6 separate regions of the Homo sapiens genome follow, and all the other regions are linked to region 1. Evidence: promoter capture Hi-C in human tissues and cell types (Jung and others, 2019). All regions are on one chromosome and are shown on one strand. Each heading gives the region's core, a stretch centred on a gene start or on the middle of the fragment in contact. The rest is flanking DNA. Distances are from core to core; before and after follow the strand shown.

Region 1 (4,190 bases), core at 584-3,083:
GAAGCAAAGACTGGGGGTACACACCATTATGATCTGGAAGACCCAGTAACGTATGTGGGAGATGGGGAAGGCGCGGTCATAGCAGGCCTGGTTACAGCCGGGCTGCAGGGTGTTGCACACAAACATGGTCTGCTCATCATCGTACACCGTCTCCCCCACAATGGCCACAATGAGGATCCGGAAGATCACCACCACAGTCAACAGGATCCTGAACGGAGGAAGAGGGAGGGAGAGAGGTTCTCACGGGCTGCGTCACTGACAGGAAACCCCTGCTCCTCCCTTCCCTTTGCTGGTGTTTACCAGTCTTTTGACTGGGGAGCTGTCCATCCCGGGCTGGTACTGAACTAGGAATCTGGGAAAGCTTTTTGTCTCTTCCTTTTCTGCTGAGTGCTGGTAGGCTGGGAATATTTCATATTATAGAGATCCCAGGTACACACATCTCCATACACTGGACATAGTCTACTTGCAACAGATAGATTTCATCTCTCTATATAGAATGTATAGAAACACAAAACACACCTTCACTCTGGATATGGCAAATGCACACAGAATACCTTTACAGATGGTGCATGCTTCGAGGTCTACACACAGGGTGTGTAAATAACTACTCCATGTGTATATTTAGTTTATTCTCAACATGAATATTAAATTTAATGCTTTATATAAGCAGATGGCTATGAATATATATTCATATATATTGAACTCATATATATATAAAGCTAGGTAGATAGAGACATAGATATAGATACAGACCCAAAAATGGCAATTGGGTGTGTAGGCTCGGTAAGTTTACACCGCCAAATAAGTTTGGTTTAGTAATTATTTGTTGAGAAAAGAGGCATCTGCTCTGAAGAGCAAATCCATCTCCCCATTTGCCCTTTTCTGTCCAAATGCAATCCTGCCTTCTTTGTAGATTCTATTTAGGGAACCAAATGGAGATTGGCTCTGACTCTGGAGAGTGGAGGGACCAAGACTGAGCCAGCGGCTCCTTTTCTGATGTGGGAAGAGTGAAGCCCCAGTGGTGCTTGATGGGGAAGGGATGGGCAGCTGGTTAGGAGTAGCTAGAGGAGGGGGGCATCGCGGGGCGTCGGGTAATCCCTCATCGCCGGGAACACCGGAGCCTTGACCTAGGACGATGGGGAGGAGGCAGAGGACGGACTGGGGATTGGAGCGGGAGACTCAGTCCAGGTGTGAGAAGGGACTCCCGGGGGCCGCCCGACGGGGCCCCCTGACCGCCGGCTTGGCGCCCTTACCTCCCGATCATAGTGGAGTGCTGCTGCACCGCGGCTTCTAGCAGCCTCTCCAAGATGGTCCATTCCCCCATCGCTGTGCATCCGGAGGCAGCAGACAAAGACTGGGCAGCACCGGGCACGTTCCCGCTCCTGGCCCCTCCCCGGGCCGCACTTCCAGAATGGGAGTGAATTGCCTCCCAATTAAAGAAGCAATTTTTTAAAAAATCCTCGAATCCCCCTTTCCTTTTATTGTACTTAAAAGAGAAGAAATGGGGAAAGAAATCCAAGCGCGTCCCGACCGATGGGGCAGTTGGCGCGGTCTAGAGAGAGGGCACGAACCTCGGGCGCCGTCCGGGGTTCGGGTCTGGATCCCGCGGACGCCGGGACGAGGGGCGGGGCGGGGTGGCAGCCTGCAGGTCCTCCAGCGCTCGCCCGCCCAGGAGAAGTCTCAGCGCCGCTCTCCGCCGCAGGTTGGGGGCCAGGGGAGGGTCCGAACACCGGCTCTGTTCCTGCTACTTCAGCGGGCACCTGGCGCTCCGGCGCGGCAGCCTGCGAGGCCAGGGCCGAGCGCGCGGAGCCGAATGCTGGGCTCGGGGATCCGCGGCCGCCGCCTCTAATCCGCCCTTAAGTAGTCTCCGCCTGCGTCACGCCAGGTCGGCGGAGGGGAGCAGAGCGCGCCGTGCGGCTGTCGCTGCGCGTCGGAGCCCGAGGGGCCGGGGACGCGCGCGGGGGGAGAGGGGCAAGAGTCCTGGAGGCCCGGCGGGGAGCGGGGCGATTTCGAAAGGAAGGACTGCAGCGCCCCTCGGGGCTTCTCGGGGAGCCCAGGTAACCTCACCTGACCGCCAGACCCAAGCAGGCGGAGGGGGAGCCGGGAGCGGACGCGTGGGTGAGTGGGGAGGGGAGTGAGTAGGTATCTTCTCTTCTCTCGGTGCATCCCTCACCTTTTCGCTTTTTGCCTCCTGGAGACAACTGAAATTCCTTCCCTAGATGGAGATGCTGGCTGAGGGAGGGCGAGTGGGGGCGACCACTTTTAAATCTCCCTTAGGGGACAGAGTGGCTGAGAGTGCTTCTGCAGAGTGGCTGCGGTTCGGTGCCTCTGTGGATCCGACAGTGAAGTGAGAAAGGCTTGATGGGAATCCATTTAGGCTGAAGGGTAAATGCAGGTGTGGAGCTGTCTCTCGGTATAGGGGTCAGGGCACACGAGCGCATCTAACAGGTGCCTCGCAAAGAGCAAGTGGGGTGGCCATGGTTAAAGGTCTCGCTTCCCCTTGCACTAACCCAGATGCTCGGCTCTTTTTAAATTATTGCTATTATTTTACTAATGGGAAGGGGGGGCGGGGTACTCGTCAGGTAAACTGTGATTTAATCTGAATTTAAGACCCAGTATTCTGCTAGCAGAAACAGAGCCACTCACAGCCTCGCCCTGCCCCCACTTGCCTTACTGGGTTTGGCTTTCTCCCCTCAACCAGCAGATCCCGGTTTTTAAAATTCACATTGTGTTGTCAGTTCTGTCTAGAGCAACTACTTAATTGGTTGCTGAAAAATTGAAACAACCTCACTAAGCTGCTAATTAGCCCAGGGGTCAGTATTAGGAGACACTGTAGCTGGCAGTGTTTGATGTAAATGTACCAAAAGTCCAATGGGAAAGTAATTGTCATCCTTTCGAAAACACGACCTTGAAAGGGTTGCTAACTTGTCCTAGGCATATAAAGGGACCTAGCCTTAATTATCCACAGGGATCATAGCACATATGTATATTACATAAGCCACACCATGGTGAGCCTTCACTTCTGGAACAACCGAGGTGGTTGGGTAGTTGGTGGCCCAGGGACTGGGAAGAAAGGTGCAGGGCATGGCCCTCAGTCCACTCACAGTGTACTTCTTCATAAAATGATGTTTAAACACACGGTCTAAGCTTCGCCGCCAGAAAGATCACTGAAATCCTCTGCTAGGGTTGACATCTTTACCCCAAGAAAGCAGCCTTTCACTGCAAAGGAGTAAAAGAGTCCACTAACAATGGAGAGAGGGATAAAGTGATTTATTAGTTTCCTTCTGAACACGGAGGAGGTTCAAGGGTGAGGACGAATGGATACCCTATTATCCAGTTAGCTTCCAGATGGAATGGTGATCCCCTAACCCAAACTTGGTGTGTTTTCCCAGGTTTCCCTTCTACTCCCCTTGGCCCTAGGTCCCTGTATTCCCTCCTTGTCTGGCAGACTCTCTTATAGTAAATGATCTTAGCCAAGAAGTGAATGAGTAAGTCCAAAGGGAAATCTGTTTAACATCTTTAAATGTCCCAAAATAGGCTGCACAACTCAAAATTGTCATTTTATGTGTTGGCTTTCCCAAACCGTTAAAGATTATGATCCTAAGAACATAGACTGCAGGAAATGCAATTATCAGACACTACGCTATGACTGAATTGTTGATCATTTGTGTATTATTTTGAAATATACTTTAATATGCCATATAGATTCCACATATAAACATGTGCAAACAACATAGGTGTATAAGTGCACAAAGACGCATATATATAGAACCTATATTTTAAAACTCATCAGTTGGACTGTGTAGGCTACTTTTAAATAAAAATCTTAGTCTCACCACCACACTTCAGAAATAACCATTTTTATTTTTAATAACCACTCATAAATTTCACACTTACTACATTGTACTTCCTCCTTCAAGTCCAGTCAACTCCATTTTCAATTAATAATTTGTTCCGATAAACAAATGTGCATTAAATGTGAAATGGTTCTCTGTGGATCCGGGCATCTCTCAGTTTCCTCAGGGCATTGTATCTTCTTGATAGATTCTGATTATCTCAACTCTCCTCTGATTGAAAACCCCCGTTTAAGGCAGCTGGGAAGTTCTTTCCATTACATCTTATTTAAAAGCCATTCTGTTTATTAAAATAATAGTTTTGGATGAGAAACAATGAAATTCGTAGAATGCTCA
Region 2 (4,190 bases), core at 1,247-3,746, 120 kb before region 1:
ATCTAACTCATATTTTTTGGGAATTTCATAATATTCAATAATATGCTTTTGCCAAATTGATTGTCCTTTCCATCTTAAGGAACATTTATTTATTTAGTCCCACATTACAATGAGTAATAACTAGCAGCATCTACCTTTGTAAACATATTGGGATTTCATATAAGGATTGCTCAAATTTTTAAGTTTATATTCATATTTCTTGGCATTTCAATATGATAATAGACATTTTTCCAAAGGGCTCTAGTAATTTACACCCTCACTGGCAATCCACGAAAACCCATTTCTCTGCATCCATATCAGCACTGAACAATATTACTTTCCAGCTGCTTTGGAGTAGGGGGTAGAAGCATAGGGCTAGTACTTTCTTTTTATGTACATAACATCGAAAATCACATGTAATTAACAGATGATTAATGTTGTATTTTTTTAAAATGTAATATTTTACATGTAATATTAAAAAATGTATTATCAAGCAAATTGTTTAGAGTTTCCTGACTATAGAGAAAATAAGCCGGTTCAAATAATCCTTCATCCTGCAATGCTTTGGGAGGACAACCCAGTTTTTCTGTTTTTTAACCCTTGCATACCCATTATCCTACTGTGTTGGCCTGGGGCTGAAATAAGAGTTTCAGAAATGTGTGAAGACATAATTATTTCAATTAATATGAATTATAAGTCATCAGAAGAAGGGTGATAATAATTTTTTTTTCCAAATTGTATCATTCAGTATCATCAGGAAAGTCTCAGAATTTACTAATACAAAGCTCATACACAATTCCATGACAATGCTGTTAAGACATCATGGCAATGAACGCCTCTATCATGGTCTGGAACTTGCTTTTTATAATTACTCTTCTAGATTCTTTTTTCCTTATGCACTAGCAATGATGAATTAGTCACGATTCCTAAGATTTACATGTACATTCCTTTTTGTAATAATTCAAACTATTTGATTGAATTAGATTTCCTTTCCCCCATCCCTGCCTGTGAAAGTTGTATTTAACTGACAGGGTCCAGCTTAATGGCTACTCTTTACTGAAGTGCTTCAACATTAAAAAAAAAAATTCTACTTGTTTCAATGAGATATTATATTTTTTATTATTACCATACTTACACATTTTTTTTTTTTTTTTTTTTTTTTTTTTTTTTTTTTTGAGACGGAGTCTCGCTCTGTCGCCCAGGCTGGAGTGCAGTGGCGCAATCTCGGCTCACTGCATGCTCCGCCTCCCGGGTTCACGCCATTCTCCTGCCTCAGCCTCCCAAGTAGCTGGGACTACAGGCGCCCGCCACTACGCCCGGCTAATTTTTTTTTTTTTTTTGTATTTTTAGTAGAGACGGGGTTTCACCGTTTTAGCCGGGATGGTCTCGATCTCCTGACCTCGTGATCCGCCCGCCTCGGCCTCCCAAAGTGCTGGGATTACAGGCGTGAGCCACCGCGCCCGGCCCATTTTTGTCTCTCCTACTAGATTTTAGAAGTTTTGAGATGCGGGACTTTGATTTATTCATCTTTCCCTTTAGCAACCATCTGTATTACCTGACACCTAGCTCAATGCCTGGTACATAGGAGATACTCAATAACAGTTGAATTAATGAAAGTATATGTAGATGATGGAGTAGGCTAGCTAAATCAGGTTAGGGGAGGTGCAGCTGTCAATGTCCATCTCTGGTTATAAATCCTGGGAAAACTGTATTAAGGGTTTGAGGATATAATGAAGCTTGTAGTCAGTCAGAACATCCTTTCTTAAAACCTTCCCAGGATAAAACAGGCCAATTGATTACACAAACAAAGTATGAGACTACAAGGGAAACTGGCCCTGTTTGTTCCTCTCCCCTGCAAGTTAATCACATTTGACCACATAATTTCATATTTACAATGCATTTTCTATTTATGCCACACCAGAGATGCTACTGGAGGCACTTTACTTAATTTTTAAAATTTCTAATGCTAGCACACAATGACTTATAAGTTCCTATTTTTGTGTTTTTTAAAAAAAACATGTTTAGATCCTTTAAATATTTACTAACATTCAAGTTTCCATTTTAAACACTTGGGACATATTCCTGAATTAAGATTAACTATTATATTGATTAGAAAAATGCTACTGGTAACAGTACAATGCGAGTCTAGAATAATGTGTCTCATTTTTAATGCTTTGTTAGTACACTGTCATTTAGAAATTCTTTCCTCTCATAACTGTGGATAGATCCCTGAGAACCAGAAAAAAATTGGATAATAATACTTTGAATTGATTATTATCTTCTACTTCTGGAATTGTAAAATATACATATTTTTTATTTTTTAAAAAGTGTGAAAGCTAGTTTCACTGCAGATGCTAATACATAGAGAGCAATTTATATATGAATTCTGAAGGGGCCTGGAGGGAAGAGCTTTTTCACACAGACAGATGAATTAGGAGACTTAGCTGACAGGGTCATCACCACATTTCTTATTGGAAAAATGAATTTCTATTGCAGGGCTAGAAAATATTTTTTAAAAATCCTCAAGTAGGCTGTAGCATTCAATGAATTATGTCATAAATTGAATGGAAAGAGAATCTGAGCATGTCTTGCAGAATAAAGAGTGAGAAAGAGACCTGCAACATCAGGCATGCTAGATAAAGAAAAATATCTTAGGCCAGCAAAGAGAGCTTCTGGGCTCGAGGTAGGAAATTGAATGGTTGTGTTTAAGTGAGTGCTTCAGTAGCATTTTACATAAAAAATTCATCTGTTTTTCAAAGTAATATACTATGCTAAATGCCGTTTATGTCTTTTTACTTCTGTTGCCCCACTTAATGATTATAGATAGAAATTCAATCATTGTAGAAGTAGTCAGCTTTCACAAGGTGGCCACTGAATAACACGAATGGTATTTGCTCTTTGCAAATAAATAAGAAGGCACTGGATTTATATTGGTAATTTAGAGTAGCTTAGAAAGCCAACTGAAAAAAAGGAAGGGAGGAAAAATGAAGGAAATAAGAACAGAAGAAAGGATGGGAGGAAGAAAGGAAAGAAAGCGAGTGGGCTGCCTCAAGTAGAACAAACACGAGAACAACTGACAAACTTTCAGTGAGTCTTGGAACATACAGGCAGTTTGAGGTTCTATTTAATGTGTCAAGATGTACTGTGTTTTCGAGATATTTTAGTCAACTGGACTTAGTAGTAATTCATACTCTCCACAGCATCATAAAAGTTTCAGTTTGTGCCAGGGAAGATAAACTATTTTGAAGTAACTTTGAATTTCATTTCTACCTTTTCACCATGTCTGCATAGACATGGCCTTATTGTAGCACATAGCTCACTGTAGCCTCAACCTGCTGGACTCAAGTGATCCTCCTACCTCAGCCTCCTGAGTAACTAGGACTACAAGCATGTGCAAACATGCCCTACTAATTTTTTATTTTTTTGTAGAGATGGGGTCTTACTACATTGCCCAGTCTGGTCTTGAACTCCTGGCCTCAAGCAGTCCTCCTGCCTTGGCCTCCCAAAGTGCTGAGATTACATACATTGGTCAAAGGATCTTTCTTAAAAGGTAAATCATGGTTGTCCTATAAAAAGATCACATGTCAAAGATTTTACTTATTAATTCATGAGGAAATGAAGATTTTACAGCTGGCTCAAAGGAGAATCCAAAGAGCAGTCAAATATGTAAGTCCATCAGAAATGCTGAAGTGAATTTGCTTAGCAGGTACAAAACAGGTTATTATCTACAAGGCAATAGTCCCTTGCATTTTGCCAGATGCAAACTACCTTTGTGGTTTGCTTTTGTTTTTTTGAGGCAGGGTCTTACTCCAGTCGCTCAGGCTGGAGTGCAGTGGCATGATCACAGCTCATTGTGGCCTTAACCTTCTGGGCTCAAGCGATTCTCCTTCCTCAGCCTCCCAAGTAGCTGGAACTACAGGCACACACCACCACACCCGGCTAATTTTTGCATTTTTTTGTAGACATGGGATTTCACCATGTTTCCCGGGCTGGTCTTGAACTCCTGGGTTCAAGAGATTCACCCACCTTGACTTCCTGAAGTGCTGGCATTATAGGCCTGAGCCACCATGCCTAGCCCAAATTACCTTTTCATGACAGGAATCATTTACATTACTATTAGTTTTCTATGACTTTGACCTTACTAGTAACTTTCTAGTAAATGTGAATAGATAAAAATATACATTATGGTAATGAAAATAGAATAAAGTGGT
Region 3 (4,190 bases), core at 557-3,056, 110 kb after region 1:
GACAAGCAAGTCAACAAAGAAAAAAATCGCCTATTAGGGAAGTGGTGCTCAAACAACTGCATATCCACAGACAAATGAATAAAACTCAGTCCTACCTGTATCATATAAAAATTAACTCAAAATGCATCATACCTAAGTATCCAACCTAAAACTCTGCAACTTCTAGAAAAAACCTTTATACCTCTGAGTTAGGCTATGTATTTTTAGGACATAAAAAGCATGAATCATAAAAGAACACTTTGATACATTGAACTTCATCAAAATTTAAAACTTTTGCTCTTTGAAAGACACTTACAAAATAAATAAACAAGCCAGAATGGGAGAAAATATTTGTAAAATACATATCAGATAAAGGACTTGTAGCCAGAATAAATAAAAACCTCTCAAAACTTAATAAAATATACAGCCTAATAAAAAAATGAGCAGGAAACCTGAGCAGACACATCCCCAAAGATATACAGATGGCAAATGACCACATGAAAAGATGCTCATCATCAGTCCTTAGGGAAATGAAAACCAAAACCATACTGAGACCACTGTATATCTATTAGAACTGCCAAAATTTTAAAAAGACGTACCATATCAAGTGAGGGTGAGGATGTGTAGCAACTAGAACTCTCACACTGCTGCTGAGAGTGTAAAGTGGTTCAACCACTTTGAAAAACAGGTTGGTAGCTTCTTAAAAAGTTAAACACATCCTTAACATAAATTCAGCCATTCCACTCTTAGGTATCTACCCAAGATAAAGTACAAAGACTTGTATAAGCAATAGTAGCCAGAAAAAATAAGAATACATACTGTATGCTTCCATTTATATAAAAATCTAGAAAATAGAAGCAAACCTATCATGACAGAAAGCAGATCCTTGGCTGCCTGGGAAGGTAAAAAGGGGACTGGTGAAGGGCAAGGAGGGATTACAAATGGGCACAAGGGAAAACTCTTGGGATAATGGATATGCTCTTTATCTTGACTGTGCTGATGGCTTCACAGGTAAATACCTATGCCAGAACATATAAAATTTTACACTTTAAGTTTGTGGACTTTATTGTATGTGGAATTCTAACTATATAAAGAAGTTTTAAAAATACGAATGTTACATAAATAATAATAGCCTGCTTTAGTTTAGCTGATTTCCCACAAGGAATTAGGTACTTTAAAGATTTATTCTGAAAAAAAGAAAATTATTTCTACAGCAAGAAAAATAAAAGTCGATTTTGAGAAACTCACCTGATGATAATGATGTGTAGTCTGTATCAAATGCATGTACATGTTGTATACAAAGTTTGCCATCTGGGGCATATTTTTTATTATTTGTACTTCATGAGATGGTCTCTCTCCATTCTAGAAGAAGGAAAAAAGAACGTTAAGTATCTAGTAAAACAACCCTAGAAGGTAACACTTCAACATAAACCCATTTCTTAATCTTATGAATAAGCACAATTAGGGTCTGGAAGACCTAACAGTAAGAGGACATAAAATGCAAGTGTGAAGAGTCCAATGAAGACTTCATGAATGTTAAAAAAAGACTTAAATAGAATTAATAAAAAGGGGGCCCAGGTCAGCACGCTCTGCCTGCTGGCCACGTGACTCCCATTAAAAAAAAAAAAAGACTTCATGAAGAATAGTGATTCCATTGAAATTTAGAAAGGTTAGAGACTAGAAGAGCTAAGAGTTGCCAGCTTTTAATATAATTTTGGGCTGGTAAGTTAAGTATGGGTTTTAGTTTACTATCTAATATAAAAGAATTAGTACAAGATAAGTAATTATTTGACTAGAGAGAAAAGTCAACACAGTCTGAAACAGCAGTTTCTAAGACTGTGTATGCTCCAAAGACAGTTCTTAAGATAATTCAGAAAGAAAATATTAACACTCTTTGTCCTACTTATATTTTTCTAAAAAGTAAGAGGCTAACATTTACTTTTATTTAACACATATACTATGAGTCAAGAGGGTGAATATTCAAATGCTCTTTTTAAGATTTTGGTGTCTATCAGAATCATCTGGGGTAGACTGTTAAATTGCAGGTACCTAGGCTCCAGCCCTATAGATTCAGATTCAGAAGGTCTGGGTGGAATGAGCTGATTCTTCTGTAGCTTCTGACAACAATCTAAGAAACACTGCTCTATAAGTGTAGGTAAGGTAGTAAAGCAAATCAAGAAAATACAGAATTTGCACTTCTTTTTAAACCACCCTAAAATAGAGATTAACAACTTTCCTATTTATAGTTATTAATAAAATGCTTATAAAGTCTTATCCTTTCTTATGATAGGAACAATTTAGAAAATCATTAAGGTAAAAAACATACCCCAAAAAAGGAGGATTCAATCTCAAAGTGAAAAGTTATTTAAAGAGCATGAAGTTAGAAATAATTTAGTAAATTAAACAACATTTCTCAGAAGTAAGCAGGATGGCAGCATTCCATCTAAGCAGGTATTCTTTTGATTAATGGTCATTTTCTGCAATGGTCAGAACTCGTATGTACAAATACGGCCATGCTATTATGACTAGGAACATGGAAGAGTTTTTGCTTGTTAGCTTATTTTCTGGAGTCTTGCCAAGAGCTGCCTTTCCTTGAGACACAGCACTCTCCGCCCCTCACTATCTCTTGAGGAGAAGATGGGGAGATGTTCTCAGCCCTAACCTCCCCAGGGCCTTGAACTCATGAGTGTTATCTAAAGCATGGGTTTCCAAGCCTTCTGTTCAGTGATATTGTCTGACCTGCACTCCAGATTTCTTCAGGTGTGACATGTAGCCCTTACATAGAAAGCACGTGGGGAGCTTGTTACACATGATGACACCTAGGCTCTGTCCCAGACCTCTTGTCAGGAATGTGCCTGTTTACTAGCCCACAAAAGATCAAGAAACTCGGATATAATAGGATTGTGTCTAGACTTGAGCCTGACACTTGAGGCTTTATGTGACCCTACCACCCCATGATCTCTCTCCACCATTTTCCTATTTCTCCACAGCAGCATTTCTTCAAAAATAAGTAAATAAAAAGGCACTTTTTATAAAGTACTTATTATTATTAAACACACAAGATTTAAGTTTTTTTTTAGTAGGGGTGGAGGGAAGACGTATACTGTGAACATCTAAAATAATGTTATTTAAAATCCAATGGACCCCCCTAGGACAATTCATTAAATGAAAAAGCAAAGCCCAAAAGTCTATAGTATAATAACCTGAAGGAAAATAATATAAAAGTAACATATCTCTTCTCCTTTATACAAAAGGAATATAAGGATAAACGTGAAACTAAAGAAACTGGTTACCTATGGAGGGAAGGTGCTAGGAAAAGGGGAGAAAGAAGGGGAGATAAGAGGGAGTAGTATTTCTCTATCTTTTCTTTAAATATATGTGCTCTCTCCTCCCTCATTTCCCCAGAATGTAAGCTTCTTAAGAACTCAACTATTTATTGCTCTATTTCCAAGTAAGTAGTTAAGTTCTCCTTACAAAGCTGAAGACAAACAGTACAGTATAATGATAAATAACATGAACTCTGGGATGTTATTCGAAAAGACCTCCTGGCTTTTCAGATCTTGGATCCTCTATCTGCTAGATGCATGGCCAAACTACTTAGCTTCTCTGACCCTAAGTTTCTCCATTTGTAAAACGGGGTTAATAAAATAATCTAATAACCTAATAGGCTGTTTTTACTGAGATGAAAATGAGATAATGTATGTAAAGAACTGCCTGCCTAATACATGGTAGCCACTAAATGTTGGCTGACATTATTATTTTTAATTTTTATTTATTTATTTTTTATAGAGACAAGGTCTCACTATGTTGCCCAGGCTGGTCTCAAACTCCTGGGCTCAAGCAATCCTCCTACCTCAGCCTCCCAAAGTGCTGGGATTACAGGCATAAGCCACTGCGCCCTACCGATATCATTTTTATATAGAAAATCTACCTCAGTTCCTCAGTGCAGCACACTCTAAAACAGGGACTAAATTATCTATAATAATGTTCCAAGCTAATGTGGTCACCTATAAGAAAATCCCAATTTCCACTCTGAGGAATGCTGTTTTATAAAATGAAGAAAGAAGTCCTACCTTTCTAGTAGTTGGGAAAGGTTCTGTTGGAATTATATGCAAATGAAGGGGGCGAGCTGTGAGCTGACTGAAAGCTGGAGTCAGTTCAAAACAGTTTTGGAAGAGGGATACTCTGGCGAAGATATAAAGTCCAAGTCT
Region 4 (4,190 bases), core at 794-3,293, 89 kb before region 1:
ATACCAAGAGCTCTCAAAGCTCAATACTGCTGGTGCAGGGGCACACACCTGTAGTCCCAGCTATTCAGGAGGCTGAGGTGGGAGAATGGCTTGAGGCCAGGAGTTAAGATCACAGTGAGCTATAATGGTGCCTGTGAATAGCCACTGCACTCCAGTCTGGGCAACATAGCAAGACCTCCATCTCTAAAACAAAACCAAACCAAAAACAAACCCAAGAAAACCCTCAATATTAAGAATATAAACAACCCGACCAAAACGGGCAAAAGATTTTTAACAGACACTTTTCCAAAAACATATACAGATGGCAAATACCAGCATGAAATACCAGCTCAATGTCGTTAGTCATTAGGGAAATGCAAATTAAAACCCAGTGAGATACTACACACATATTAGAATGACCCAAATTAAAAAAGACTAACTGTACCAGTGGTTAACAAGGAAGTGGATGAACTAGAACTCTCATTCACTGTTGTTGGAAGTACAAAATGGTAATGCGCTTTGGAAAATAGTTTGGCAAATTTTTTGAAAGTTAAGTATACTTTTACCATAGGATCCAGCCATTTCATTCTAGGTATTTACACCCAAGAGAAATGAAAGCAGACCTTTTACAAATACTTGAACATGAATGTTCATGGCAGCTTTATTTGTGATAGCCAAAAAAGGAGAAACAGCTCAAATGTTCATCAGAATAAATAAACAACTTGCTCTATACAAACACAATGGGAGGCTACTTAGTAATAAAAAGAGAAGGAATATTGACATATTGTAAATCTCAAAATAATTATGCCAAGTAGAAGAAGCCAGTCCAAAAAAAGTACATACTGTATGATTTGATTTATATAAAACTCTAGGAAATGCAAACTAATCTATAGTGACAGAAAACATATTAGTGGTTTCCTGGGAAGGGAAGGGAGTCATGGTCTGGGAGAAACAGGACAGACAAATTACAAAGAGACACGAGGAAACTTCTAGGATGATGCATAGGTTCATTATCCTGATTATGGTGATGGTTTCACAGATATATACATATATCAAAATTAATAAATTGTACAAGTTAAATACATGCAGTTTAAGTTATGTTTCAATGTTTTAAAAAGGAATTTTAACAGAAAGGGGATTGTTCTATAAAAATATAGTTGAAATGCTTTGGAATAACCCAACAAAAATATATCTGAATTTTTAAAATTGTTATCAATTTAGATGTAGGAGAAACCAACATCAAAGACTGGGCAGTATGTATGTGGTAATGGTGGGAGGTGGGTGGAATTTGCAAAAATCCAGAAGGAAGATGTACTTAAAGTGCTTTGCAAGTGTTTTTTGTTTGGTTTGGTTTGGAATTTTTGAGACAAGAGTCTCACTCTGTCACTCAGGCTGGAGTGCAGTGGCATGACTATGGATCACTGCAGCCTCGACCTCCTGGGCTCAAGTGATCCTCCCACCTCAGCCTCCTGCGTAGCTGGGAACACAGATGTATGCCACCTGCCTAATTTTTTTTAGTTTTTGTAGAGATGGGGTCTCCCTATATTGCCCAGGCTGGTCTTGAACTCCTCAGCTCAAGCGATCCTCAGCCTTCCAAAGTGCTGGAATTACAGGCATGAGCCACCGCACCTGGCTTGCAAGTGTTATTTTTCCACTTGAGAAATGATGACTACAAATTAAAGAAAATGCATTATGGATGTAGTTTATTTTAAAAAGGTAATATAGAACTATAAGCGGAAGACTCATCTCAAAGTAAAAGGCTGTGGCTCTCTATCAAATGATTGGCAAATGAATATATATATATACATATATATATGCTAAAATAAATGCTTAAGGTAGGCATTGTTTTGATTCCTCAATTTAATAAAGTTTTTCAATCTTATTAGGAATTTTGATGGTTTCAAATAGGAGGCCTTCTACTATAAGGGTGTAAAGATTTTTATAGATACAAGCCTCACATTTCCAGCTAAGCCATTAGATATCTTGCCTCAGTGAAAGAGATGAGGAAGTTTCATCAGATTCCTCATGTTCTCTTTTCCCCTCTGAACACGGCTCCTATCTTCAGAACCTTCAAGCTTCTTAACTTCTACCCTTCAGGATTTTAAGTTGAAGCTGAAGAAAGACTCAGCTTCAGAAGCCCAGAACTCTGCAGATAGATGAAAACAGTTCTCCACTGCTATAAATAAAAACCTGAAACCTGTCACACTTGGTTAATATCACCCACGTTAGGAGCCATGGACAGAAAGGAAAGAGGCAAAAGCAAAACATCTGTTGCTTTATTTAGAAACCAAGCTCATGACAGAAAAACAAGTCACCGGTTTTCAGGCACACAGAGATTTCAAACGCCTTTTCCTGTAAGATTCGAGTTAGGGAATACCATGTTCAGTCCTGGTTAGTGGCTGCAACACTCAGTACCAACTAGAGCAGAAAGAAACACAGAAGAGCTTCCTTTGCCTCTGTTGACAACTACCCAGAGCCTGAAAAGTCTGCATCTCAGATTCAGGCCCTTTATCCAAAGACTTACGGACGGGAAGCAACGCCCATCCAATGCCTATTGATTATTAACATCAGCCCATTTCTCAACTTAGCAATTTCTAGAAACTCAGGAGCAGTCAGAAGGGTGTGGTTTTCATAGATCTGATGATCAAGGCTGGTGCCAAGGCAGCTGCCCTGCAATAGGGTGGTTTGAGGATGCCCCAAACTCTCCCACCCAAAGATCTCTCTGCTCTGGATTCCATACCCACCTGCCATGGAGCTGGATATGTTCCTGCACAAGACTGGCAACTCTCCTGCTGAGGAGTTGCTCCATCAGTTATAAAGCAAGTGTGTACCTGGTCACAGCAGTCTATGGCCCAGTGCAGCACATCAATGCATTGGGAAACGATATCCAAAACAAAACCCTAGAGCATGAATCAGGGGACAAAGAGAAGGAGAAGTATAGTATACTGAGCACTCAACTGACAGGGGAGGGAAGAGTTATATCTCCTCTGAGCAGCCACAAAGCAGTATGAGAACATGAGCAACAGAGCTGGAAAGATGCTGAAGAATTCCCACCTTCACCACTTTACCTAAGGCCAACCTTGCTGAAGACTCAGGGACTTAGAATTGCTACCAAATCTACAAGCATAGGTGTTCTTGGAATTGCTTCTCAGAGAGGAATGGATATTTTATTCATTCATTTAACCAAGATTTATTCATCTTTGTGGAGCATACAGACTAGTGGGAGAGAGACAGATAATAAGCGGAATGAATAAAGAAATGTAACAGGATATGAAAACGTAATAAGTGCTGGGGAGATAAATTAAGTTAGGACCGGCATAGAGAAAGTCATGGGCTACTTTTTTTTTTGAGACAGGGTCTCAGTCCCATGCCCAGGCTAGATTGCAGTGGTGTGATCATGGCTCACTGCAGCCTCAACCTCCTGGGCTCAAGCAATCCTCCATCTCAGCTGAGACTGCAGGAGCATGCCACCACACCTGGCTAAATTTTTGTATTTTTTGTGAGATGAGGTTTCGCTATGTTGCCCAGGCTGCTCTCTAACTCCTGGGCTCGAGCGATCCACCCACCTCGGCGTCCCAAAGTGCTGGGATTATGGGCATGAGCCACCAAAGGGCTACTATTTTAAACAGGAGAATCAGGGAAGCTTTGCTTAGGGTTTGTTTGCCTCTTAATTGTCTTATCTCCTCATTCCATTTCTTTTTCAGAGTGCAAAGGACCTAGGAAGTCCTGGACACATGTTTGAGACTGGAGCTATAAAAAGTAGTATGACACAAATGAGTACTCTTTAAACAATTTTGATCATGAACCCTGTCAATAAAAATTGTGAGTGCCTGCTCTCAGAGTATTCTTATGTTTTCTTCATAAATCATATACATATTTTCCTGTATTACTATATTCCACTCAGTTTTAATCAAACACAAAACAGGATGATTTAAGGGTGAAAGAAATATATTTTATACCTAGTTAGCATGATGACTTCATATTATCACTAGCATATAATTAAAGGCACATTATGAACTTAAGATGAGGTTCATTGTTAAAAATAATGAATGTAAGTATCACAAATTCATAAAAATTTAGGATTTTGGGGCTAACTGCTTTCTTCTCTGAGTAGGTCTCCATTGTATTTTACTTTTAAGTGATGCCAATGAAAATATTCTACTAGGAGTAGACCTATTGATTTCTCATTGTTCATTTGTGCTTCCACTACT
Region 5 (4,190 bases), core at 1,134-3,633, 80 kb after region 1:
CTTATGGGGAAAGAATTCATTATTTTACAATTAAGCATGATGTTACCTGTAATTTTTTTTGTAGCTGCTTTTTATTAGATTGAGGAAGTTTTCTTTTATTCCTAGACTGCTGAGAGTTTTTAACCAAAAATGGGCATTGAAATCTGATAAACATTTTTCTGCTTTTGTCGAGATGATCATATATTTTTTCTCCTTTTTTCTGTTAATGTGGGGAACTATGTTGATGATAATTGTTTCATTTTTGAATGTTAAACCAACTTGAATTGGTTTAAACCCCATTTAGTAATGGCCTAACCTAGAGTTTCAGTATGGGAAACACTATCAATGGGCTTAAAAAATCCAGTTCACTAATATCACAGGGCACAAGAGAATTTTTGTGTCCTTAAAAAAAGATTCACCGAAGGCCAGGCGCGGTGGCTCATGCCTGTAATCCCAGCACTTTGGGAGGCCGAGGCAGGAGGATCACGAGGTCAGGAGATGGAGACCATCCAGGCTAACATGGTGAAACCCCATCTCTACTAAAAAATACAAAAAATTAGCTGGCTGTGGTGGCGGGCGCCTGTAGTCCCAGCTACTCAGGAGGCTGAGGCAGGAGAATGGCGTGAACCTGGGAGGCAGAGCTTGCAGTGAGCCGAGATTGTGCCACTGCACTCCAGCCTGGGCAACAGAGCAAGACTCTGTCTCAAAAAAAAAAAAAAAAAAAAAAGCTTCACCTATTACGGAGTGGAGAACATTGCTGTGCAGGAAAATTATATGGGAACAACAGATACTGATAAAAGTGGGTCTTGTTAAGGCAGAATTCTGTAAGAGGATAAGGGAGGAGAAGGGGATGGCTGTTTTCTGTGTTTTGTTGACTCTGGGCAGCAGATTTTACAACAATAGGGTATGTTTCAGCCCATTCGGGCTGCTATAACAAAGTGCTGTACACTGAATAATTTATAAATGATAGAAATATATTTCTCACAATTCTGGAGGTTGGGAAGTCCAAGATGAAGACACCAGCTGATTCAGTGTCTATAGAAGACTCACTCATAGATTCATAGATGGTGCCCCTTGCTGCATTCTTGGCTGAAGGGGCTAGGGTGCTCTCTTCAACCTAATTTATAAGGGCACTAGTCCCATTCATGACAGCAGAGCCCTCATGACCTAATCACCTATCTAAGGCCCCATGTCTTAATATTACTGCATTGAGGATTAAGTTTCAATATATGAATTTGGTGGCGGGAACACCAATATTCTGACCATAGTGGGGTGGAAAGATTTAGATATCTATATATAAATAAGCCTGAAATGGTTGTTCAATTCTGATAAAATTTAAAGATAATGAGAAAAAGATTTTTCTGCGCATGGCAACTCCCATTATACTGTACTTTAAAGGGAATAGAGAGGTTTCTGATATTAGTCCCATCTTCTGCCTCTTTAAAAAGCTATTGGTATGCACTCAACACTGGAGCACCCAGATATAAAAAGCAAATATTATTAGAGCTAAAGAGAGAGATAGATCCAAATACAATAAGAGTTGGAGATTTCAGCACCCCACTTCTCAGCATTGGACAGATGTCCCAGACAGAAAATCAACAAAGAAACATTGGACTTAATCTTCACTATAGAACAAATGAACCTAATAGATATTTACAGAACATTTTATCTAATGGCTGCAGAGTACATACTTTTCTCCTCAGTATATGGACTATTCTCAAGAATAGGCCATATGTTAGGTCACAAAGCAAGACTTAAAACATTCAAAAAATTAAAAAATATCATCTTATCTGACCACAATGGAATAAAACTACAAATTAGTAACAAAAGGAACTTTTGGAAACTACACAAACACATGGAAATGAAATGATATGCTCCTGAATGACCAGTGGGTCAATGAAGAAATTAAGAAGAAAATTGAAATATTTCTTGAAACAAAGGATAATGTAAACACTACATACAAAACCTATGGGATACAGCAACAGCAGTGCTAAGAGAGAAATTTATAGCTATAACAACCTACATCAAAAAGAAGAAAAACTTCAAATAAACAAATTAAATTAGAAAAGCAAGAGCAAGCCAAACCCAAAATTAGTAGAAGAAAAGAAATAAAGATCAGAGCAGAACTGAATGAATTTGAAACAGAAAATAATACAAAAGATCAATAAAAAAAGCTGTTTTTTTGAAAAATATAAACAAAATCGACAAAACTTTAGCTAGACTAACCAAGAAGAACAGATAGAAGACCCAAATAAATAAAATCAGAGATGGAAAATGAGACATCACAACGGCTACCACAGAAACTCAAAGGATGATTAGTGGCTACTATGAGCAATTATATGCCAATAAACTGGAAAATCTAGAAAAAATGGGTAAGTTTCTAGACATGCACAACCTACCAAGATTGAACCACGAAAAAATCCAAAACCTGAACAGACCAATAAAAAGCAATGAGATTGAAGCTGTAACAAAAAGTCTCCCAGTAAAGAAAAGCCTGGGACCCAATGACTTTACCGCTAAATCCTATCAAACATTTAAAGAACTAATACCAATACTCAAATTTTCCCAAAAAATGGAGGAAGAGGGGATACTTCCAAACTCATTCTCAGAGGCTAGTATTATCCTGATGCCACAACCAGACAGAGATCAAAAAAGAAAACTACAGACCGGTCTCCCCAGTGAATAGTAATGCAAAAATTCTCAACAAAATACTAGCAAACCAAATTCAACAATACATTAAAAAGATAATTCATCATGACCAAGTGAGATTTATCCCAGGGATGCAAGAATAGTTCAACAAATGCAAATCAATCAATGTGATACATCATTATCAACAGAATGGAGGGCAAAAACCAGATGATAATTTCAATTGATGCTGAAAAAGCATTTGATAAAGTTCAACATCCCTTCATGATAAAAACCCTCAAAAAAGGTATAGAAGGAGCATACCTCAACATAATTAAGGCCATATATGACAGACTCACAGTTAGTATCATACTGAATAGGGAAAAATGGAAAGCCTCTTAGATCTGCAACATGATAAGGAAGCCCTCTTTCACCGTTGTTATTCAACATACTACTGGAAGTCTTAGCTAGAGCAATCAGACAAGAGAAGAGATAAAGGGCATCCAAATTAGAAAGAACTCAAATTATCCTTTTTTGCAGATGACATGATCTTACATTTGGAAAAACCTAACAATCAACATACAAAAATCAGTAGCATTTCTATATGCCAACAGAGAACAATCTGAAAAAGAAATTTAAAAAGCTATCCCATTTACAATTGCTACAAACAAAATTAAATACCTAGGAATTAACCAAAGAAGTGAAAGATCTCTACAATTAAAACTATAAAACACTGATGAAAGAAATTGAAGAGGGCACAAAGAAATGGAAAGATATTCCATGTTCATGGATAGGAAGAATCACTATTGTTTAGATATCCATACTACCTAAAGCAATATACAGTCTCAATGTAATCTCTATCAAAATACCAATGAGATTCTGCATAGAAATAGAAAAAATGTCCTAAAACATATATGGAATAAAAAAAAAAAAGCAACTAGAATAGCCAAAGCTATCCTGAGTAAAAGGAAGAAAACTGGAGGAATCATGTTACCTGACTTCAAAGTATACTGCAGACTATGGTAACCAAAACAGCATGGTACTGACATAAAAACAGACACATAGACCAATAGAACAGAATAGAAAACCCAGAAACAAATCCACATACCTACAGTGAACTCATTTTTGACAAAGTTGCCAAGAATGTACATTGGGGAAAAGACAGTCTCTTTAATAATTGATGCTGGGAAAACTGGATATCGATATTCAGAAGAATGAAGCTGGATCCCTATCTCTCACCTTATATAAAAATCAAATAAATTTGGATTAAAGACTTAAATCTAAGACCTCAAACTATGAAACTACTACAAGAAAACACTGGGGAAACTCTCCAAGACATTAGTCTGGGCAAAAATATCTTGAGTAATACCCCCCAAGCACAGGCAACCCCTAAATTGGTTTCCTCTTACCTTTTCTAGAGATGATGGTGATGACAGCAGTCTACCAATGTTTTTGCATTTCTCTGGCTCTCCAGATATGGTAATGAATGAATGAATAAATAAATAATTTTAAATGCCTGGGAAAAGCAAAGATACCCTAGCATAAATTTCCTATCTTTAAGATTTTGGGCCAGGCATAGTGGCTCA
Region 6 (4,190 bases), core at 850-3,349, 71 kb before region 1:
AAAGGATGCCAGCAATAGCTTCCCTCTCTCTAGGGGTAATGCCACTTAGTTGTGTATGTCAGGAGTTGCAGTAGTCCTGTGCCCAGGTGTTAGTCCTTTTCATTTCTTCTGACTGCATGATGAAGAGATTTAGAACAAAGATGTTATGTAACAGTAAAGGATTGTTTTGTTGAAGGGCTACTTGCTCCTTACCTGGTTGGTCTTACACCGAATGCACCCCTTTTCTGGCCCTAAGGCTGGGATTCCACCAGGAAAACAACATATATCCACATCACATAGGGCACATTTCATTTCTAGTACTGCTGGATATCTACAGGATGCCACCTACACACGAAAACCTATGGGATATTTTATAAGTTTGAAGCCAGCATACTTTCTGAACCTCAAATACCAGCAGTCAATGAAACAGAAGGTTCTGTGTCCTTGTGTGCTCAGATAGTCACTGGGTTTTCATGAAGTTTCTCTGAACACTTATTGCCCTGGCTCTGCCTGATCTTGGTGAGGACACCAAAAGCACATTGATTATCAATGCCATTAAGGAATTCATTAGCAAAGGGTCAAGCTTAAAGTAAGAAGGTCCCAATATGGATTCTTGGCTAATATGACTCAAACGCAACTTTTGCAATTTCTCATCATTCAACATGTTCCTCCAACAGGATTCAGTCCTAATGAGTTATTGATGGAAGAGAAAAATCCTACTACAGTGGAAAAAATGGGAGTTTTGGAGTCAGACAGGCTTTGGTTAAAACCTTGGTTATTAAATATCTTTGGATTTTAATTTTCTTCTTTTTAAAGAGAAAATGATTATCAGCATAGTTGTTCTGGGGGTTAGAGAAGTTATAAGTATTTGGTCTAGTGCTTGATGCATAGCAGAGGATCAATAAATAACTGTTACTACCCTTGTATTAATAATTATCATCAATATAACAATAACTATCATAAAAATAACCATAGATGAAATGTCAAGATTTGTTTAACCATGTTGAGAACTAGAAGAGAAGCATTATTGTGATAAGCAATAAAGAGAAATAAGATTATGGAGAAAGTCATACTGACTGATTTTCATTCCCCATTTTATTCTTTTTATTCCCCATTTCAACACGTATCACATTTACTGAGAAAAGAAACCATCATTCAAAAATAAAGCCCAGAGGGCCAATTACCCAAGGAGAGCTCATGCCCAAATCATGTCTGGCCGGGGAAGAGAATAAAATTTTAACATGCATTCCCAGGGGCCAAAAGCTGATCTCTCCTCCTACCACTGGGTAAGATGATAAAGGTATGGAACAGCAGGTGAATGTGTATTTGTTCTCCAGGGGAAAGCGAGTCAAAAAGGAAGCAGAAACAGTCTACGAATGAAATTTCTCATTTCCCTTAGGGTGAGCTCAGAACTGGGCACATTCCTCATTGAACACTCACCTCTCATCGGGGATCAACATGTTCAGATGTGCCATACCCAGGATGATTCATCGTGATCAAAGAAAACAATGTGATTGTGGTAAATCCCTTTATCAGTGTAGCTTATTATTACTACCAAGAACTTGAATTGATTCAAGCTACAGACTTGAATAAACCTCATGATTTAGTAAAATAAACCTCACTGATTTTCCGAAGTCTCCAGTGAATTAAACCAAAGCAAAGTTGTCCATTCAGATCCCTGCCCCCACATAAATAAACTTGGTACACCATTTTGAATCTACCTTTTAACTTATTAAGGAAATCTAAAATCAGATCACTATATTTTCTAAAGGACATCCAAACAAAATTAACTTAAATTACTACAAAGATGTAGTAAATATATTGGTAGTCTCAGTGTGGTGCTGGTAAATGTTTAATACCTGGCTCACTGGGGAAAAAAGTATATATTACACATATATACATATATATGTATATATAATTTTATATGCCATATATGGTATATATACTAATATATATTAGCATTTATATATAAGATATGAATTTAACTGATACAAAGGACATGCAACATATAATTTATGAATAATAAAGTGTACAATACTTTTTATTATAAATTCCATAAAGCCAATTGACTCTACAGAATGCTTTTGTTGATTTTTTTCTGAACGCTTGTATCCATAACCATTCTGTGGCAGTAAACAAATGAGTGTGGTTCTGATCTGAATGTTGGTCAATATTTTTATTTATGTTATTAAATACTATGAAAGTTAAATAAGGAAGACTTATGTCAAACCTTCACTCATTTGTCAATAATGTGAGCCATTGCTGGTTCAGATAATGACTTTTGAAAACTGGAAGAATAATTTTTGTGCCATTCACAATTTAATGGCTACAGGCACAATATACTTACATATTTTAATCTGCATTAGTAACATTTTCTCTATCAATACCTTAAATCTAGACAATCAGCAAAACAATAAAGCAGGCCATGATTTGTATTATCTGACCATTTCCATGGTGTAAATATTTGCACTATAACTTTTTCAAAAGGCCAATGTAGACAGGAGAATTGCTTGAATCTGGGAGGCGAAGGTTGCGGTGAGCTGAGATCGCACCACTGCACTTCAGCCTTCCAATAGAGCGAGACTCCATCTCAAAAAAAAAAAAAAAAAAAAAAAAGGCCAATGTGATGTCACTGAACACAGAGTTGGAAGAGATGTGCAATAGCTGACTATTCTATAGTATTTTCCAACACATATACACAACCATAAATAGCATCAAGAGCATAGATAATAGTATGTGTAAAAATCATTAGAAAGTGATGACTTTTGAGTGTTATCTTTAGCATACTTTATTGTAAGTATTTAATACAATTTAAATTTTCTTTTTTTTTTGTATTTTTGAGACAGGGTCTCAGCTCTGTCACCCTGGCTGGAGTGCAGTGGCGCATACTTGGCCAATTTGCAAATTTTCATGGAGATGAAGTCTCACTATATTGCCCAGGCTGGTTTCAAACTCCTTAGGCTCAAGCAATCTGTCCACCTCGGCCTTCCAAAGTGCTGGGATTACAGGTGTGGGCCACTGCGCCTAGCCTAATTTAAGTTTTGATGATGACTATGTTTATCTACCAGCATTAAAAATTTCTGAATTTAACAACAGGCACTTACAAGCCTGCACAAGAACTTCCAGAACACTGGCTGTTTACACAACCTTTGTTCCCCCTTCTTCCTTTTTTTTTTTTTTAATGCTTGAAGATCTCACCTGCTTCATCATCACCATTGATGACTTGGAAGATGACCTAACCCCCAGTTCTGCAGCCCACCATGGTAATTCCAGTTCCCTTGTATGATTTGAGAAAGGCCATTTAACTCAATTCTGGCTAATAAGGTGTGAGGTAAAGTCCATTGGAGGAGTTACAAAAGAAGTTTCCTCATTTCTAGAAAAGAGGCACAGAAAGAGGTGGCCCCTTTCCTTTCTCCAGATATTGTCATGACTTGGTGGGATCAAGGAATGGCTATAGCCTACCAGTTTGCGGGTAGCTCAAGTCCTGTTTGGGAGATGAGGCTAACTCACAGGAAACGAAGACAAATACAATATAGGTTATACATGTCTGTTTTTCTACTGAGTAGTAACGTAGTCTCTGAATTTAACAGGATTTCAGATGAAAGTTTGATCAGCAAGGCCAGAGTCACCAGAGAAGGCTCATGGAAGGAGTGTGATTTGGTTCAGGTCATAAAGAATGAGTGAGGTTTGAGAAAAAAGGGAATAACAATTCATATGCAGAAAAAATATGGGGGCCAGTCCAAGTGGCTAACATTTATAATCCCAGCACTTTGGGAGGCCAAGGTGGGTGGATCACCTGAGGTCAGGAGTTCGAGACCAGCCTGGCCATCATGGCGAAACCCAGTCTGTACTAAAAGTACAAAAATTGGCTGGATGTGGTGGTGTGCACCTGTAATCCCAGCTACTCAGGAGGCTGAGGCAGGAGAATCACTTGAACCCTGGAGGTCGAGATTGCAGTGAGCCAAGATCGTGCCACTGCACTCCAGCCTGGGCAACAGAGACTCTGTCTCAAAAAAAAAAAAAAAAAAAAAAAAATGGGGAAAGGCGTGGTAAGAATCACTACAATATGGTGAAAAGCTTGGTCTTTGGAGACAGATCTGAGTTAGAATTCCTGGACTACCACCAATTTTGTTACCCAGAGCAGTTTATTCAACTTAGCAAAGCTCAGTTTCCTCACCTGGAAATGAGAAATAATATTAGTACTTACACCA

What was found. The method cuts DNA at HindIII sites, captures the fragments that hold promoters and counts their contacts. A contact is called where the count stands out against the background at its distance.
Region 2: a fragment that was not itself captured here is called in contact with the fragment with the promoter of GJD2 in region 1 in 2 of the 25 tissues and cell types used here (IMR-90 fibroblasts and thymus).
Region 3: a contact is called between a fragment that was not itself captured here and the fragment with the promoter of GJD2 in region 1, in 2 of the 25 tissues and cell types used here (H1 embryonic stem cells and dorsolateral prefrontal cortex).
Region 4: a fragment that was not itself captured here is called in contact with the fragment with the promoter of GJD2 in region 1 in 3 of the 25 tissues and cell types used here (adrenal gland, dorsolateral prefrontal cortex and mesenchymal stem cells).
Region 5: a fragment that was not itself captured here is called in contact with the fragment with the promoter of GJD2 in region 1 in 2 of the 25 tissues and cell types used here (heart right ventricle and mesendoderm cells).
Region 6: a fragment that was not itself captured here is called in contact with the fragment with the promoter of GJD2 in region 1 in 3 of the 25 tissues and cell types used here (aorta, heart left ventricle and mesendoderm cells).

Annotation. Positions count from the first base shown.
Region 1 is chr15:34,753,165-34,757,354 of GRCh38, forward strand. GJD2 (gap junction protein delta 2) reads right to left here and starts at 1,834. Exons shown (of 2, transcript NM_020660.3): 1 at 1,254-1,834; 2 at 1-208. The coding sequence starts at 1,324. It overlaps GJD2-DT (GJD2 divergent transcript), which reads left to right and starts at 1,920. Exons shown (of 3, transcript NR_120329.1): 1 at 1,920-2,057. The HindIII fragment of the contact is 7,022 bases long and covers 1-3,800 here.
Region 2 is chr15:34,637,430-34,641,619 of GRCh38, forward strand. All of the region lies in intron 1 of LOC124903462 (a long non-coding RNA gene), which reads left to right. Among named protein-coding and RNA genes, the nearest start is that of LINC02252, 16 kb to the right of the region's middle. The HindIII fragment of the contact is 4,905 bases long and covers 45-4,190 here.
Region 3 is chr15:34,858,815-34,863,004 of GRCh38, forward strand. It overlaps AQR (aquarius intron-binding spliceosomal factor), which reads right to left. Exons shown (of 35, transcript NM_014691.3): 33 at 4,053-4,190; 34 at 1,228-1,341. Among named protein-coding and RNA genes, the nearest start is that of ACTC1, 65 kb to the left of the region's middle. The HindIII fragment of the contact is 4,126 bases long and covers 1-3,869 here.
Region 4 is chr15:34,663,694-34,667,883 of GRCh38, forward strand. No RefSeq gene overlaps it. Among named protein-coding and RNA genes, the nearest start is that of LINC02252, 10 kb to the left of the region's middle. The HindIII fragment of the contact is 3,983 bases long and covers 53-4,035 here.
Region 5 is chr15:34,832,136-34,836,325 of GRCh38, forward strand. No RefSeq gene overlaps it. Among named protein-coding and RNA genes, the nearest start is that of ACTC1, 39 kb to the left of the region's middle. The HindIII fragment of the contact is 5,149 bases long and covers 1-4,190 here.
Region 6 is chr15:34,681,418-34,685,607 of GRCh38, forward strand. No RefSeq gene overlaps it. Among named protein-coding and RNA genes, the nearest start is that of LINC02252, 28 kb to the left of the region's middle. RefSeq lists an enhancer at 594-1,793. The HindIII fragment of the contact is 5,135 bases long and covers 1-4,190 here.